Regions from separate parts of the Homo sapiens genome. Here all the other regions are linked to region 1. Evidence: promoter capture Hi-C in 16 types of primary human blood cells and fetal thymus (Javierre and others, 2016). All regions are on one chromosome and are shown on one strand. The core of a region is centred on a gene start or on the middle of the fragment in contact, and the rest is flanking DNA. Distances in the headings are between cores, read along the strand shown.

The links. Contacts are between HindIII fragments. The CHiCAGO score rates a contact against its expected background, and 5 or more counts as called.
Region 2: a fragment that was not itself captured here is called in contact with the fragment with the promoter of MSH4 in region 1 in 5 of 17 cell types (total CD8 T cells, activated CD4 T cells, total CD4 T cells and 2 more); the score reaches 10.9 in total CD8 T cells.
Region 3: a contact is called between a fragment that was not itself captured here and the fragment with the promoter of MSH4 in region 1, in 1 of 17 cell types (activated CD4 T cells). The highest score is 5.3, in activated CD4 T cells.
Region 4: a fragment that was not itself captured here is called in contact with the fragment with the promoter of MSH4 in region 1 in 7 of 17 cell types (total CD4 T cells, total CD8 T cells, naive CD4 T cells and 4 more); the score reaches 11.2 in total CD4 T cells.

Annotation. Positions count from the first base shown.
Region 1 is chr1:75,795,250-75,798,985 of GRCh38, reverse strand. It overlaps MSH4 (mutS homolog 4), which reads right to left and starts at 2,104. Exons shown (of 20, transcript NM_002440.4): 1 at 1,757-2,104. The coding sequence starts at 2,000. The HindIII fragment of the contact is 6,934 bases long and covers 588-3,736 here.
Region 2 is chr1:77,992,845-77,996,580 of GRCh38, reverse strand. It overlaps a transcript of DNAJB4 not described here. Among named protein-coding and RNA genes, the nearest start is that of DNAJB4, 10 kb to the left of the region's middle. The HindIII fragment of the contact is 2,170 bases long and covers 542-2,711 here.
Region 3 is chr1:77,826,616-77,830,351 of GRCh38, reverse strand. All of the region lies in intron 7 of MIGA1 (mitoguardin 1), which reads right to left. Among named protein-coding and RNA genes, the nearest start is that of MIGA1, 49 kb to the right of the region's middle. The HindIII fragment of the contact is 742 bases long and covers 1,257-1,998 here.
Region 4 is chr1:77,799,801-77,803,536 of GRCh38, reverse strand. MIGA1 (mitoguardin 1) reads right to left here. Exons shown (of 16, transcript NM_001416120.1): 3 at 2,029-2,206; 4 at 131-267. Among named protein-coding and RNA genes, the nearest start is that of MIGA1, 22 kb to the right of the region's middle. The HindIII fragment of the contact is 3,199 bases long and covers 366-3,564 here.

The sequences.
Region 1 (3,736 bases), core at 855-3,354:
TGATCTTTTACCTGCAGATACAGGTCTACTGATTTAAGTGGCAAGGGACATGATAAGATCATTTTCCACATAACTCTGGTGGTACAGTAAGTAAGCTACAAGGATGGAAGAACACTTAAGAGTTTGAGGGCTAGGTGCAGTGGCTCACACCTGTAATCCCAGCATTTTGGGAGGCTGAGGTAGGAGGATCGCTTGAGCCTAGAAGTTCGAGACCAGGCTGGGCAACGTAGGAAAACACTGTCTCTACAAAAAAATTTTTTAAATTAGCCATCTGTAGGGGCACATGCCTTGGTCCCAGCTACTCGGGAGGCTGAGGTGGGAGGATCGCTTGAGCCCAGGAATTTGAGGCTGCAGTGAGTCATGACCATGCCACTGCACTCCAGCCTGGGCAACAGAGCAAGACTCTGTCTCAAAAAAAAAAAAAAAGTGCAGAGAGGAATTTAATTAATCATATAGTCAGCCTGAGGTATCCATTAGTCCATCAATAAAAACTTCAGAAGACAGTCTGAAGTAAGTCTGGAGTGTAGATGAGATCTGAGCTGTGGAGATAGTCACATCTAGGTAGAAGTGGCCTAGGAAAAAAAGCTTTAATGACATGCCCATAATTTGGGAACAAAGGTGGGCACAGCAATTCTCTGGGAGGTAGCAGAAAAACAGGGGCAAGTGGAATCAAGGAAGCCAAATTAAAAGAGTTTAAGAGAAGACCAGTCAAGAACATTAAACATAGGCCAGGCAGCAGTGGCTCATGCCTGTAATCCCAATGCTTGGGCAGACCGAGGCAGGAGCACTTGAGACCAGGAGTTTGAGACCAGCATGGGCAGCATAGCGAGACTCTGTTTCTAAAAATAAAGAAATTAAGAACATTAAATACAGCAGAAAGGTCACATGAGATGAACTGAAAAATGACCATTGGATTTGGTATTTGTTACTTTACCATTGTGTTGCAATCGTGTGTGAAAAATGGTGATGCTTTGTCATGAATAGAGACTAACAAAATAATAAATGATTTGAAGGACATGCATCTTTTTTGTTTGTTTGTTTTGAGTCAGGGTCTCACTGTGTCACCCAGGCTGAAATGCAGTGGCGCAATCTCAGCTCACGGCAGCCTCGACCTCCCGGACTCGCCATCCTCCCACCTCAACCTCCTGAGTAGCTGGGACCACAGTCACGTGCCACCACACCCAGATAATTTTTGTACTTTTAGTAGAGATAGGGGATGGGGGTGGGAGGTTCACCATGTTGGCCAGGCTGGTGTGGAACTCCCGGCCTCAAGTGATCCGCCCACCCTGGTTTCCCAAAGTGCTGGGATTACAGGCGTCAGCCACCGCCCAGCCCACTCTTTTAATACTAAACATATTATTTTCCCTGAATTAGATGAAATGTTCAATTTAATCTATTTTATCCCACCTTAGCAGGATTTGGAGAATTAAATTCAGCAGCCAAAGATCAGCTCACAACTTCTATCAGCAAACTCACGCACAAACTGTCATTTGTCAGACACTGTGAGGGACGTTATATGGGATACTTCAGCCTTTCTCAGAACTGAGCCATCCACAGTCAAGGTCTTGCAATAGAACCAATTTGAAAAGTCAAGGCTTCTAATCACCCAGACTCACCAAATTCCCAGGGCACTCAGATCTCACGCCCCAACCAAATCACAACTTCACTGTGGTAACCACCACCCACGTGCCCCCGAGCCTCCATGAACTGCCGGCCTCTAGCCTCAAGGAGACTCCTCCACCCAATCACTCCTTGCCTTGAGCTGGCCGGGAGTTTGGCGCGGGGCAGGGAAGGCTGCTGCTGCTGCTGCTCCGGTCGCCCGCAGCTCCTGACGTGCCAGGACAGGTGGATGCAGAGACCACCTGGACCGAAGGGCGGCTCTGTGGAGTCTCCTGGAGTCCGAAATTGTAGCGGGGACCCTGAGGTGAGCGGGTTTCTCCCGACGACGGGGAAACCGCCGGGGCAGAAGGCGAGGTTGATGAGATCTCAGGCCTCAGCATCCTCCCAAACCTTCCCTGACCCGAGAAGTATGAGGTTTCTGAGCGACCCCTCCAGTAGCCCAACTACAGAAGCTGCGCCGCTGAAACGGGCGGGAGAACTGCGCGCCGACGCACTAAGCTGCACTGCGCAGGCGCAGGCAGGCTCAGCTTTCCACATGGATTCACGTACTTCAGGTCTATGACCCTGCTTCCAGCCATTCCCAAACCCATCACTTTCCACATGAACCTCACTGGAACATCCTCAGCCTGCAGGTATCAGACTGACCAGAACTCTGCAAGGCCCATCAATGACCACCCGATTTGTTAGCCCCATTATTCTCACAGCACCCAATCTCCCTTATTGCAAATGTTACATGCATTTCCCACACGTCCAAGCACACTAGCTTATCTTTAAATGTAGAAACCACCCAACACAGTACACCCAGTGCCTTTGACACAATGAGAACGTGTAATGCTCACACAGCATAACCCACCTAAGGTTGATCTTGTGACCAAATATAGGAAAGATAGTTATATTATCAAAAGATAGTATGCACATGGCTGTGTGCATAGTAGAGTAGGAAACAGGGAAAGACTGACTGGGTAAGATCTCTCAGTTAACAATTCCCCATCTACCAATTTCTAGTACTGTGGTTTCTAACATATAAATCAGTTAATGGCACACTAGAAGTTCAAACTCCAGCTTTGCAGTGGTGACCTTTAGAAAATTCCTTAAATAAGGCCAATAGTACCAACTTACCAGAGATCCATGGATTAAACATGACGAAATTATCTGGATACTGCCATACAGAAGCTATTAGAAGACATTAATTTACACCACTACTGAAATCCTGCCACTGTTGAGTATCTCAATAAACCAGTTATGCACAGCGGTTTACCCACATGCAGTGACAACAGTCCTTAAGAACATCTCTGTTCTTGGAATGATTATTGCACAGGGCATTCCAAACATACTTGAGAAAAATCTCAATTTCCATCAAAAAACCTTATTTTCAGATCGGGCACGATGGCTCCTCCCTGTAATCCCAGTACTTTGGGAGACTGAGGCCAGAGGATTACTTCACCTCCGGAGACCAGCCTGGGGAAGACAGTGCCTGTCCCCAAAATTAAGAAATCAGCTGGGCATAGTGGGCATGGTGGCAGGTACCTGTAGACCCTGGTACTCAGGAGGCTGAGGTGGAAGGACTGCTTGAGCCCAGGAGTTTAAGGTTACAGTGAGCTGTGATTGCACTACTATGCCCCAGCCTGGGGAAGAAAGGAAGACCCTGTCTCTAAAAAATAAAATTTAAAAATAGAGAATACCTCACTTTCACCAAAACTGTAAACCCCTAGAGTGATTGTACTCATTTTAGGCCAGGCGTGGTGGCTCACGCCTGTAATCCCAGCACTTTGGGAGGCCGAGGTGGGTGGATCACAAGGTCAGGCTGGTCTCCAGCTCCTCAGCATGGTGAAACCCTGTCTGTACTAAAGTAACATAAAAATTAGCCGGGCATGGTGGTGTGCGGCTGTAGTCCCAGCTACTCGAGAGGCTGCGGCTGAATTGCTTAAACCCGGCAGACGGAGGTTGCAGTTAAGCTGAGATCGTGCTGCTGCGCTCCAGCCTGGGCAACAGAGATTCTGTCACAAAAAAATAAAAAAGAGTGATTGTACCCATTTTAGCTTTTTAAGAAAAAGACAGGTGCAAAAAAATACTGTGGTGACCATCAACTTACCCGTTAGTGTTTCCTTATTTGAAG
Region 2 (3,736 bases), core at 377-2,876, 2.2 Mb before region 1:
TTAAAAAATTAAAAAGTACCTACCTTTCAAAAAACAAGAAAATAAAATTGCTTTAAATGTATAGAAATTACTAGATTTGGAGACACCCAGGGGATCAGACATATTTTATACTTAAAAAAATAAATCAGCCAGGTGCAGTAGCTTACACCTGTAATCCCAGCACTTTAGAAGCACGAGGTGAGAGGATCACTTGAGCCCAGGAGTTTGAGACTAGCCTGGGTAACAAAGTGAGAATTCCATCCCTACAAAAAATTTACAAATCAGCCAGGCATGGTGGCATGTGCCTGTAGTCCCAGCTACTCAGGAGGCTCAGGCAGGGGGATGGCTTGGGTCCAGGAGGTCAAGGCTGCAGGTGAGCCGTGATCATGCCACTGTATTCAAACCTGAGTGACACAATAAGACCCTGTATCCAAAAAATATATATATCATTTCCTTTTTTGGGGAGTATAGAACTAACTTATTCTAACTGGGATGAATAAAATATTCAAGCAACAACTAGCCCTTCTTTGTTACCCTCTTTTACAATAAGTCCTTGAAAGCTTGCTAATGACTAGTGAATGTATGGCGAGCTAATATACTTTTCTGGCATTTTGAAATAATTTAAAGAGTTCTTTTTTTGTTTTGTTTTGTTTTTTGAGACAGAATCTCACTCTGTTGCCCAGGCTGGAGTGCAATGGCACAGTCTGGGCTCACTGTAACCTCCGCCTCCCGGGTTCAAGTGATTCTCCTATTTCAGCCTCCCAAGTAGCTGGGACTACAGGCATGTGCCACCACACCCAGCTAATTTAAAATAAAGTGTTCTTTACACTGATTTTAAACACTGAGTTAGGCCCAGGGTGATAGCTCACACTTGTAATCCCAGTACTTTAGGAAGCCAAGGCAAAAGGATCACTTGAGTCTAGGAGTTCAAGACCAGCTGAGCAACATAGTGAGACCTCGTATCTACAAAAAATAAAACAGATTAGCCAGATGTAGTGGCATGCACCTGTAGTCCTAGCTACTTGGGAGGCTGAGGCAGGAGGATCACTTGAGCCCAGGGAGATGAGGCTGCAATAAGCCATGATCACGACACCACTGCACTTCAAGCCTGGGCAACAGAGCAAGACTGTCTCAAAACCAAAAACACTGTATTAGCCAAAAAATTTTAAAAAGAGCTAGAGTTTCTACATCATTTTAAATGGGTCTTGATAAACTAATATTTCATTATAACATTTTGCCTGTGTTGAAAGATCACACTATTTAGACCAGTGCTGTCCAACAGAAATATAAAGCAAGCTACAAATGCAAGCCACATTTCCAGAAACCATATTTTTTTAAAGTAAAAACAAACGTGAAATTAATTTTAATAATGTATTTTATTTAACCTAGTAAATCCAAAATATTATCATTGCAGCATATAATCAAAATACAAATTATCAATGAAATACTTTACATTCTTTATTTTTTGTACTAAATATTTGAAATACAGCATGTATTTTACACTTTGACCTCAATTCAGATAGGTACATTTCAGTAGCTTAAGAGTCTCATGTGGCTAGTGGCTACTGTGTTGGACAGTGCAGATCTAGTGGTTCCTTCTAGTCGGCAGTACTATAATCCAATTTTTCAGAAATCTCAGCCTGTGAATCTCAGCCCAAGTATACCACACATACATACCTCTCACATGCACATTTAGGGTAAATAAAGTCTTAACAGGTGAACTCTATTTTACTTATAAAATAGTACTACATTGTTCATCCATATAAACAATATGATAATTTTTTTCAAAATAATACTTTACACTTAAGGTAGTAGGAATGTATTTACACATGCTCAGTTGACATACACTTTCACAATGTTTAATTGTAAAAGCAACACTTGGAAATGAGGAATCTACGTGATTTTCACTTTTATCTTTTCTAAAATGTCTCTTCTCATACTCTTTTCTTATATGTGGCCTGAGATGTCATCTTAATTGGCTCATTAGAAAAATGAGAGTAGTTAAAAAAAAAAAAAAAGAGAGAGAGTAGTTTAAGGAGTACACAGAAAAAAAATGTCTGTAGCCCAAGAGGAGGAGAGGATATGCAGCTGTTTCATTGAATTATTAGGCTCTTAGCCAAGACTGCAACAAACTGATTATTTAGCAAGTTTGTTTAGCTAATTGTTTACAATTCTCAAATAATTTTTTTCTTTTTTTTTTTTTTTTGAGACAGTCTTGCTCTGTCACCCAGGCTAGAGTGCAGTGGTTTCATTATGGCTCACTGCAGTCTCAGCCTCCGGGGCTCAAGTAGTCCTCCCAACTCAGCCTCCCAAATAGCTGGGACTACAGGCATGTGCCACCATGTCTAGCTATTTTTTCTTTTGTAGAGATAGGGTCTCCCTATTTTGCTTAGGCTAGTCTTGAACTCCTGGGCTCAAGCTATCTTCCCACCTCCGCCTCCCAAAGTGCTAGGATTACAGGTGTGAGCCATTGTGCCTGGCCTCTCAAATGATTTAATTTAAATCAGTACCAAACTTTAACTATGAATTAACTTTATCGTATACTGCATCCATTAAAACATAATCACGAAACCACTGCTACCATGGAGACTTAACTATGATTCGAAGACTTTAATAATGGCTACCAAATATAAGTATTAGAACATTTATATAAATAAGCCCGTATGTCCTATAGTATTTACCAACTACTATAAAATTCAGCCATTGACTACCTAATTCCAAATGCATAAGCTTGAACTATTATAATTGTCTAAAGAAGGATATTTAGAGAAAAATATATCTCTAAAATAAATTAACTGTAAATGGATGGGTTTTAATGTTCAAGTTATTAATATTTCAAAAATATAAACTTTTTGTTATCTAGGTCAAATCAGCATATCAAGCCAACCATTACTGAGACCCCACTGTGCTATACTGTTACATGTAACATGAAGGATAAAACAGTATAATACATAGTCCCTACCCTTAAGGAGTTTATACTATAAATAAGTCAGGCACGGTGGCTCATGCCTATATCCCAGCACCTTAGAAGGCCAAGGAGGGCGGATCAATTGAGGTCAGGAGTTCGAGACCAGCCTGGCCAACGTGGTGAAACCCTATCTCTACTAAAAATACAAAAAAATTAGCCAGATGTGGTGGCACACACTTGTAGTCCCAGCTACTTGGGAGGCTGAGGCAGGAGAATTGTTTAAACCCGGGAGGTGGAGGTTCAGTGAGCCAAGATTGTTCCACTGCACTCCAGCCTGGGTGACAGAGCGAGACTCGATCTCAAAAAAGAAAAAAAATAAAAGAAAAAGGAGTTTATACTATAACTATATAAAGTAATACCTAATGTCTATTGTTGCTTTTGCCAGACAGCGGTAGAGTTGAGTAGCTGCAGCAGAGACTGTATGGCCCACAAGGCCTAAAATAGTTACCGTCTGGCCCTTACCAGGAAATGTTTGCCAACTTCTGCTTTATACAAATTATTCTTCGCTGGAGGGAGAGCAAAGTCTAAATAAAGCACTAAACATGATAAAATTTTATTGCATCTGGCAAACTTTAAAAACTATAGTTTTTACAATAAACACTCAGAAATAGGCCGGGCGCGGTGGCTCAAGCCTATAATCCTAGCACTTTGGGAGGCTGAGGCGGACAGATCACCTCAGGTCAGGAGTTCGAGACCAGCCTGGCCAACATGGTTAAACCCTGTCTCTACTAAAAATACAAAAATTAGCCAGGTGTGGTAGCACATGCCTGTAATTCCAGCTACTCGGGA
Region 3 (3,736 bases), core at 378-2,877, 2.0 Mb before region 1:
TTATAATGACAATGAAACTGTAAGGGACTTAGGAAAAAAGACATATAAGACATTTATGAAGAAGATTATAAAACATTATGAAAGATATAAATGAAGACCTAAGTAAAGAACCATACCATGTTCACAGATATAAAGGTTACTATTATGAAAATGTAAATTTGCCTACAGCTGACCTATAAATACAATATAATAATCAAAATCCCAAGAGAGTTTTTCATGAAACTTGACAAGCTGTCCTAAACTTCACATGGAAAAGCAAAGGGCTAAGAATAGTCATGACAAGTCTCAAAAAGCCCCACAGTGAATGGACTCACCCTGCCAAGTGTCAAGATTTATTATAAAGCTATATAAAGCTACAGTAATTAAGACACTGTGAAACCAATGCAGGAAACAGATTAACAGAACAAAATAGAGAGCCCAGAAAAGACACACAGAAAGAGACCTGACATATGACGGTGGGGGGTGGGGGGGCTTTGCAAATCAGTCAGAAAAGAATATATTATTCAAAGAGAGGTGCTGAGGCAATTACCCATCCAAACATTAAAAACAAAACAATAAAATACATTTAAAAAAACTTCTACGGCCGGGCGCAGTGGGTCACGCCTGTAATCTCAGGACTTTGGGAGGCCGAGATGGGAGGATCACTTGAGATCAGGAGTTCAAGATCAGCCTGGCCAACATGGTGAAACCCCGTCTCTACTAAAAATACAAAAAAATTAGCTGGGCGTGGTGGCAGGTGCCTGTACTCCCAGCTACTAGGAAAGCTGAGGCACGAGAATCACTTGAACCTAGGAGGTGAAGGTTGCAGTGAGCTGAGATCGCGCCGCGGCACTCCAGCCTAGGTGACAGAACGAGACTCTGTCTCAAAACAAACAAACAAAACTTCTAGAAGATTTTTTAAGGGACAGGGTCTCACTCTGTTACCAAGGCTGAAGTGCAGTGGTGCCATCCTAGCTCACTACAGCTTCAAACTCCCAGGCTCAAAAGATCCTGCTATCTCAGCCTCCCAAGTAGCTGAGACAACAGGCATATACACGCATGCCACCACACCCAGCTAATTACTTTTATAAAATTAATTATTCTACTTATTTTTTTGTAGAGACAGGGTCTTACTACATTGCCCAGGCTGGTCTCAAACTCTTGGCCTCAAGCAATCCTCCCACCTTGGCCTCCCAAAGTGCTGGGATTACATGCATGAGCCACCATACCTGACCAACTTCTAGAAGAATAAAGACCTAAATATGAAAAACAAAGCTTTAACACTTTCCAAGGAAAATACAAAAGAATTATCTTTATCCCTCTAAACAATACATAGAAAGCACAAACCATATAGGAAAGAATGAAAAATGTGATGACATTAAAATTAAATATCTGGGACCAGGTACAATGGCTCATGCCTGTAATCCCAGCACTTTGGGAGGCTGAGGCAGGACGACCACTTGAGCCCAGGAGTTCGAGCCCAGCCTGTGAAATACAGGAAGACTCCCATGTCTACAAAAAATACAAAAAAAATTAGCTGGGTGGTGTGGCACATGCCTGTAGTCCCAGCTACTTGGAAGGCTGAGGTGGGAGGATCCCTTGAGCCCAATAGTTCAAGGCTATAGTAAGCTATGGTCACACCACTGCACTCCAGCCTGGGTGACAGAGTGAGACCCTGCTTCAAATTTTTAAAAAGAAAAAACAAAAAGACAAACAGACTTACTGGCAGTAGTACTTTATATATTTGAGGCTTAAAATAAAATACACATGAACCATACATTATATTTTCCTCATGTACTTAAAAAATTAGTTTTAAATTTCTACTTCACTAAAAATAAAGTTCTGTATTTAATAAGCTGAAATTATACCATTTACTTAAATTTATTGCAAAAAACCTTAATGATACCCATCTTGTCTATCCATCCAAATATCTATCATTCAGATATTACCTGCAGGGCCTCGTAAGCAGAAATGCACATGAGAATCACCTGCTGAACTAGGAAATACAAACCCAAAGCTTCATGTCCCAACCCCAAAGTTTCAATTTCAGTAGGTCTAGAGCAAAACCTATGAAGGTGATTCTGATAAACATCATAGAAGACCCACAGACCTACTACTATCTATACTACATTCAAACCAGTTTCAGACACTGAATAGAATTAAGTATGTCTTCTGCCCACAAGGAGTTTAAGGTTTAGCATAACACACTGGATATGTACATAAATAATTATAATGTATTGTCAAGAGTAATCAATGTCACAAAGGAAACCATTAAACCTCCCCACCCACCTTTATTTATTTATTTATTTATTTATAAGACAAAGTCTCACTCTGTTGCCCAGGCTGGAGTGCAGTGGCCCAATCTTGGTTCACTGCAGCCTCCTCCTCCTGGGTTCAAGCTATACTCCTACCTCAGCCTCCCAAGTAGCTGGGACCACAGATGCACACCACCACACCCAGCTAATTTTTGTATCCCACCTTCATATTTCATATAGGACTTCCACTCCAATCTCCAAGAAGCAGCTATTCTGGTTTTACATTTTAAGTTGCTCCCTTCACCTCTTCAATTGCTCCTCCCCATGGGAAGAGTAACTTGGCTAATGCTGAGAACCTGCATGCAATTAACCAGGTAGAGGAAAATAAGATAAAATTAATGTTCACTAGTTCTTGGTGTGTACTAGTTCACTCTCCTTCGCAGACTTTCTAGAGAAAGGTCAGGGTCTGCAAACCCATCCTCACTTTTGCTCTGGATCTCACTCCTTCTGAGCTGGACAAAGTGTTGGCAGAAATTGTAAGGCAGGCAGGGAATCTCTACGCAGCTGGCTGGGTAAGTATGTTGTTAATTTGCTCTGTATTCTCTTCTCCAGATAATTTTTTATTTTATTTTATTTTATTTTTTGAGACAGGGTCTCACTCTGTCACCCAAGCTGGAGTGCGGTGGTGTGATCATAGCTCACTGCGGCCTCGATTTCCAAGACTCAAGCAACCCTCCCCACTCAGCCTCCCAAGTAGCTGAGACTACAGGCGTGAGTCAACACACCCAGCTTCCAGAGAATTTTTTTGAGGGGAAAGGAAGAAGTTGTAAAAATCCTTAACACATTGTCCAATCTGGCTATTAAGAAAAAAAGTTTAGGTCAGGCGTGGTAGTCGGGAGGCTAAGACAGGAGAATCACTTGAACTCAGGAGGCAGTGAGCGGAGATCGTGCCACTGCACTCCAGCTGGGCCACAGAGCAAAACACCATCTCAAAAAAAAAAGGCTCTTTTTGGCCAGGTGCAGTGGCTCATGCCTGTAATTCCAGCACTTTGGGAGGCCCAGCTGAGTGGATCACCTGAGGTCAGGAGCTTGAGACCAGCCTGGCCAACATGGTGAAATCCCATTTCAGCTAAATATACAAAAAAATTAGCTGGGCGTGCTGGCGGGCGCTTTTAATCCCAGTTACTCGGGAGGCTGAGGCAGGAGAATCACTTGAACCCAGGAGGCAGAGGTTGCAGTGAGCCAAGAATGTGCCACTGCACTCCAGCCTGGGCAACAGAACAAGACTCCATCTCAGAAAAAAAAAAAGGCTCTTTTTGTGTTCTTAATTTATTCAGAATCCAGACCTGGCATGGTGGCTCATGTCTGTAATCCCAGCACTTTGGGATGCCAAGGAAGAAGGACTGCCTGAGCCCAGGAGCTCGAGACCAGCCTGGCAACATAGTGAGATCCTGTCTCTACAAAAAATTAAAAAATTAGCTAGTCATGGTAGTTCACGCCTG
Region 4 (3,736 bases), core at 716-3,215, 2.0 Mb before region 1:
AAAGCACATTCAGACGATTTCTTAAGAGTATTTCCATACTAAGAACTATAAGTATATGACACTTAAACTAATAGATCACAGAAGACATATAAACAAAAATTTTAAAAATTAATATTTTTTCTGTACTTACAGAGGCCAAACTCTGTGCAGAACCTGAATATTTACTGAAAAGTCCTCCATTAGCATAGTTACAAACTTGAGATCCTTTGTCTTTGGTAGAACTTAAAGATAATGTCAAATTCTGTCTGCTACTGGAACAACTTGAACCTATCAAATAAACATACTAATATTAAAAATATCAATAACGCCAATGATAAATTTCAGGTAAAAATTTCAGAGTTTATAATATATTCACCCAGAAAGCTTCTAATTTTAAAACATGCATCACTCACTTGTGTAAATTATTACATGTACATCATTATTAAAATCTAAATCTTTATATAATCTTATATAATCTTTTTTCAACACTGCTAAAATCTGCTTCTGAAATGAAGAATAGAATATTCACCTAATAAATTAGGATGGTATTTGAATGGTCTATTGTAACCAGTATAAAAATACTGGTGACTATGTTAAATTTACAATTTTGTTAAACTGTAAATTTAACAAAATACAGGCATTTCCTTTTCTGAATTACATCTAAACCTTACCCAAATCTCATTGCATTGAAATTAGTTATACTTCTGCCTCTTCTACTCATCTATCCATTCTTCTAAGACTGACATTAGTTTCTTGGTTTTTTTTTTTCCTTTTTTTGAGAAAAGATCTCACTCTGTCACCCTGGCTGGAGTGCAGTGGTGCAATCATGTCTCACTGCAGCACTGACGTCCTGGGTCAGGTGATCCTCCCACTTCAGCCTCCCGAGTAGCTGGGACTAGCTAGCTGTGCCACCACACCAAAAAAAACAATTTTTTTATTGTTATTTTTGTAAAGATGTGGTCCCACTATGTTGTCCAGGCTGGTTTAAACTACTGGGCTCAAGCCATCCTCCTGCTTTGGCCTCCCAAAGTGCTGGAATTATAGTAACGAGTCACCATGCTGCACAAGTTTTTCTTAATGCAGCAGTTAAGATGTTCCTGGATTCAAATCCCGGCACTTATAAATTATATGACCTTGGGCAAGTCACTTAGCTTTTGCATATCTCAGTTTTCTTTATGTAGAATATAGAAACAATAACAAGACTATAATCCTAATTCACAGGATTGCTGTAAGGTTAAATAAAGCACTGAATATATGGCACTTACCTGAGACCTAATAAAATCTCAGCAAGTGACAGCAATCATTACTGTTGCAATGTTCACTGCACTCAGTACGAAATAGTCACTCATTAATTGTATGCTGGACAGATGACTCACAAAAGCATATCACACACTCACTAAATAATAAAAAACTAAGAAACTCAGCATGTTTAAGGAATTATTTTTATTCATACGATATCTTTACCAAAAATTAAAGATCCTTTAAAAGACAGCAACTTACTTCTTGAACTCTACATACTAAGGAAAATAGACAAGGATACACAAAATAAGAAAAACACAAGCATCCTAAAGGGAACAATGGGGAAATGATTAAATAAATTGGGGTACATTCATACAAATTAACACTAGTTATATATTAAAAATGATAGCACAGAGGGATATTTATTGACCTGGAAAGACATTCTTCCACACTGTCAAATATCTTAAAAGCAGGTTACAAAATGTCTGATTACAATTTTACTTAAAATACATAAATAATTTACTTGTATATAACATTTTATGTCTCAATATGACATTTAAATACAAATATAAGTGGACTGATATACATGAAAGTATTATCAGTAGTTATTTCTGGGTACCAGAATGTCAAGTAATTTTAATTTTTTGTTTGCTTATCTACATTTTCTAATCTTTCTAAAATAAATCTGTACTACTTTTGAGTTAAATAATATATTAGGAAGAAAATTCTGGAGACTAAAAGACCAAAATCACTGTATTCCAGTTATGATTTACACACTTTTGTACACTTACTTCAACTATTTCCACATACCTTTGTCTGATGCTGCTCTTTTAGTGTATTCAAGTATGAGGTGCTCTGGTTCCCATGGTAATATTTTTCCTTTCTTCTTTCCACGTTTTCTTTTAAAGTGATGAGCCAGAAAAATTACAGATATAGCACTCACTGCAGTTACCACAAACAACTTTTTAGCCACCGGAGAAAATTTGATCTGGAAAAGATTCAGTTAAAATTGAAAAAAATCTCTTTAATTTGTTCACTTAAAAGAAGGACCTAATAACTAAACTTACTCTTAATCTAACCTATTTCTAAATACTATCAAGAGAATATCATTTCACTCTTTCAATGACAAGCTAGCCCAATTTGATTTTTTAAAAAATATCTTAAATGTTGTAATTTATTACTCACTACTCTGAAGATCTCAGGTAAACAATATTACCCCAAAGTCAATAGGAGCAGAAAATAATTCAACCCCGTTAATATTTTTTGAGCAATTAAGGATTAATTCACGCAACTGAATCTTCTGTCTGAATCACAGCAAGATTTTTTACAGGGATGATTAAACTGAGCTTTAAAAAAAACTATCTGGAAATCTGAGGAAATAGAAGCTAAATCCATTTCTAAATACTTTCTAAATAAGCCATTTTATTCACAAATTATTTAACAAATATTTCTTCAGAATCTTAAAGTACCAGGACTGTGTTATAAATTAAAATCTTACTGTAATTCTATTCTATGAGCACATAATAAGTGCCTACAACCAATCAGGAAGCACTATGTATACAGAGGTCACAGATCTTGCATTTTGCGTATACTCTTCTATTTCCCTCAAGCAGTGTGCTAAGAGTGGAGACAGATATATTGGCAAATAATTACAGCATAATGTGATAAATACAGTTATACAAGTACTAAGTTATATAAGTACTAACATCAGAGCAAGAAGCGATTAACTTTCTCTTGGGAGACAAACACTATTAAATACCTAAAAGCAAAGGAACTCTAAAATAAAGCTAAAGGCTTGGAATGTTGAGAGCTGGAAAGAATGTCACTTTCAACCCTCCAACAACAAAATAAAGTATTCTGACTCCATCAGAATACGGAGATCAGAGGGCAACCAATTGCCCCCTAAACTAACGAGACAGGCATTTGCAGAGAGGTAAGACATTAGCATTGGCTTACACGGACAAGACATAGCATGACGTTAGCAAGAAGAGGTCAGCAAGCATCGTTTCAAATCTGGTGGAGAAAGAATACACTGTTGAGAGGCTGGAGAGAGGTGCTGCAAATGTAGGTGAAATCCACACCTTTCTTGCATATCTTATCATCAAGAATCACCAGGCACTCGTAGAAAATACTGAAAGAGTCCTACAAAAGTCTCCCTAATGGTACAGAGGGAGGGAAACAGCAGCTTCTGTGGAGGGCATGAACCAGCACCATAACCTTTCTCCTCTATCCCCATTAAAGAACAAAAGCCTTAAACTGTGGATGCATCTTTAACTTTAGAGAGAAATTTATGCCATTAAATGCTTATATTAAAAAAGGAAAGATATCAAATCAGTAATCTAAGCTTTCGACTTAAGATTCTAGAAAAAGAAGTACAAATTCAACCTAAAACAAGCAGGATATAGGAAGCATTATAAAGATTAAAGCAGAAATCAATAAGACCAACAGCTGGTTTTTTTTTTTGGAAGGAAAACTAATAAAACCTCTAGCCAGTCTTATTAAGAAAAAAAAGCAAGAA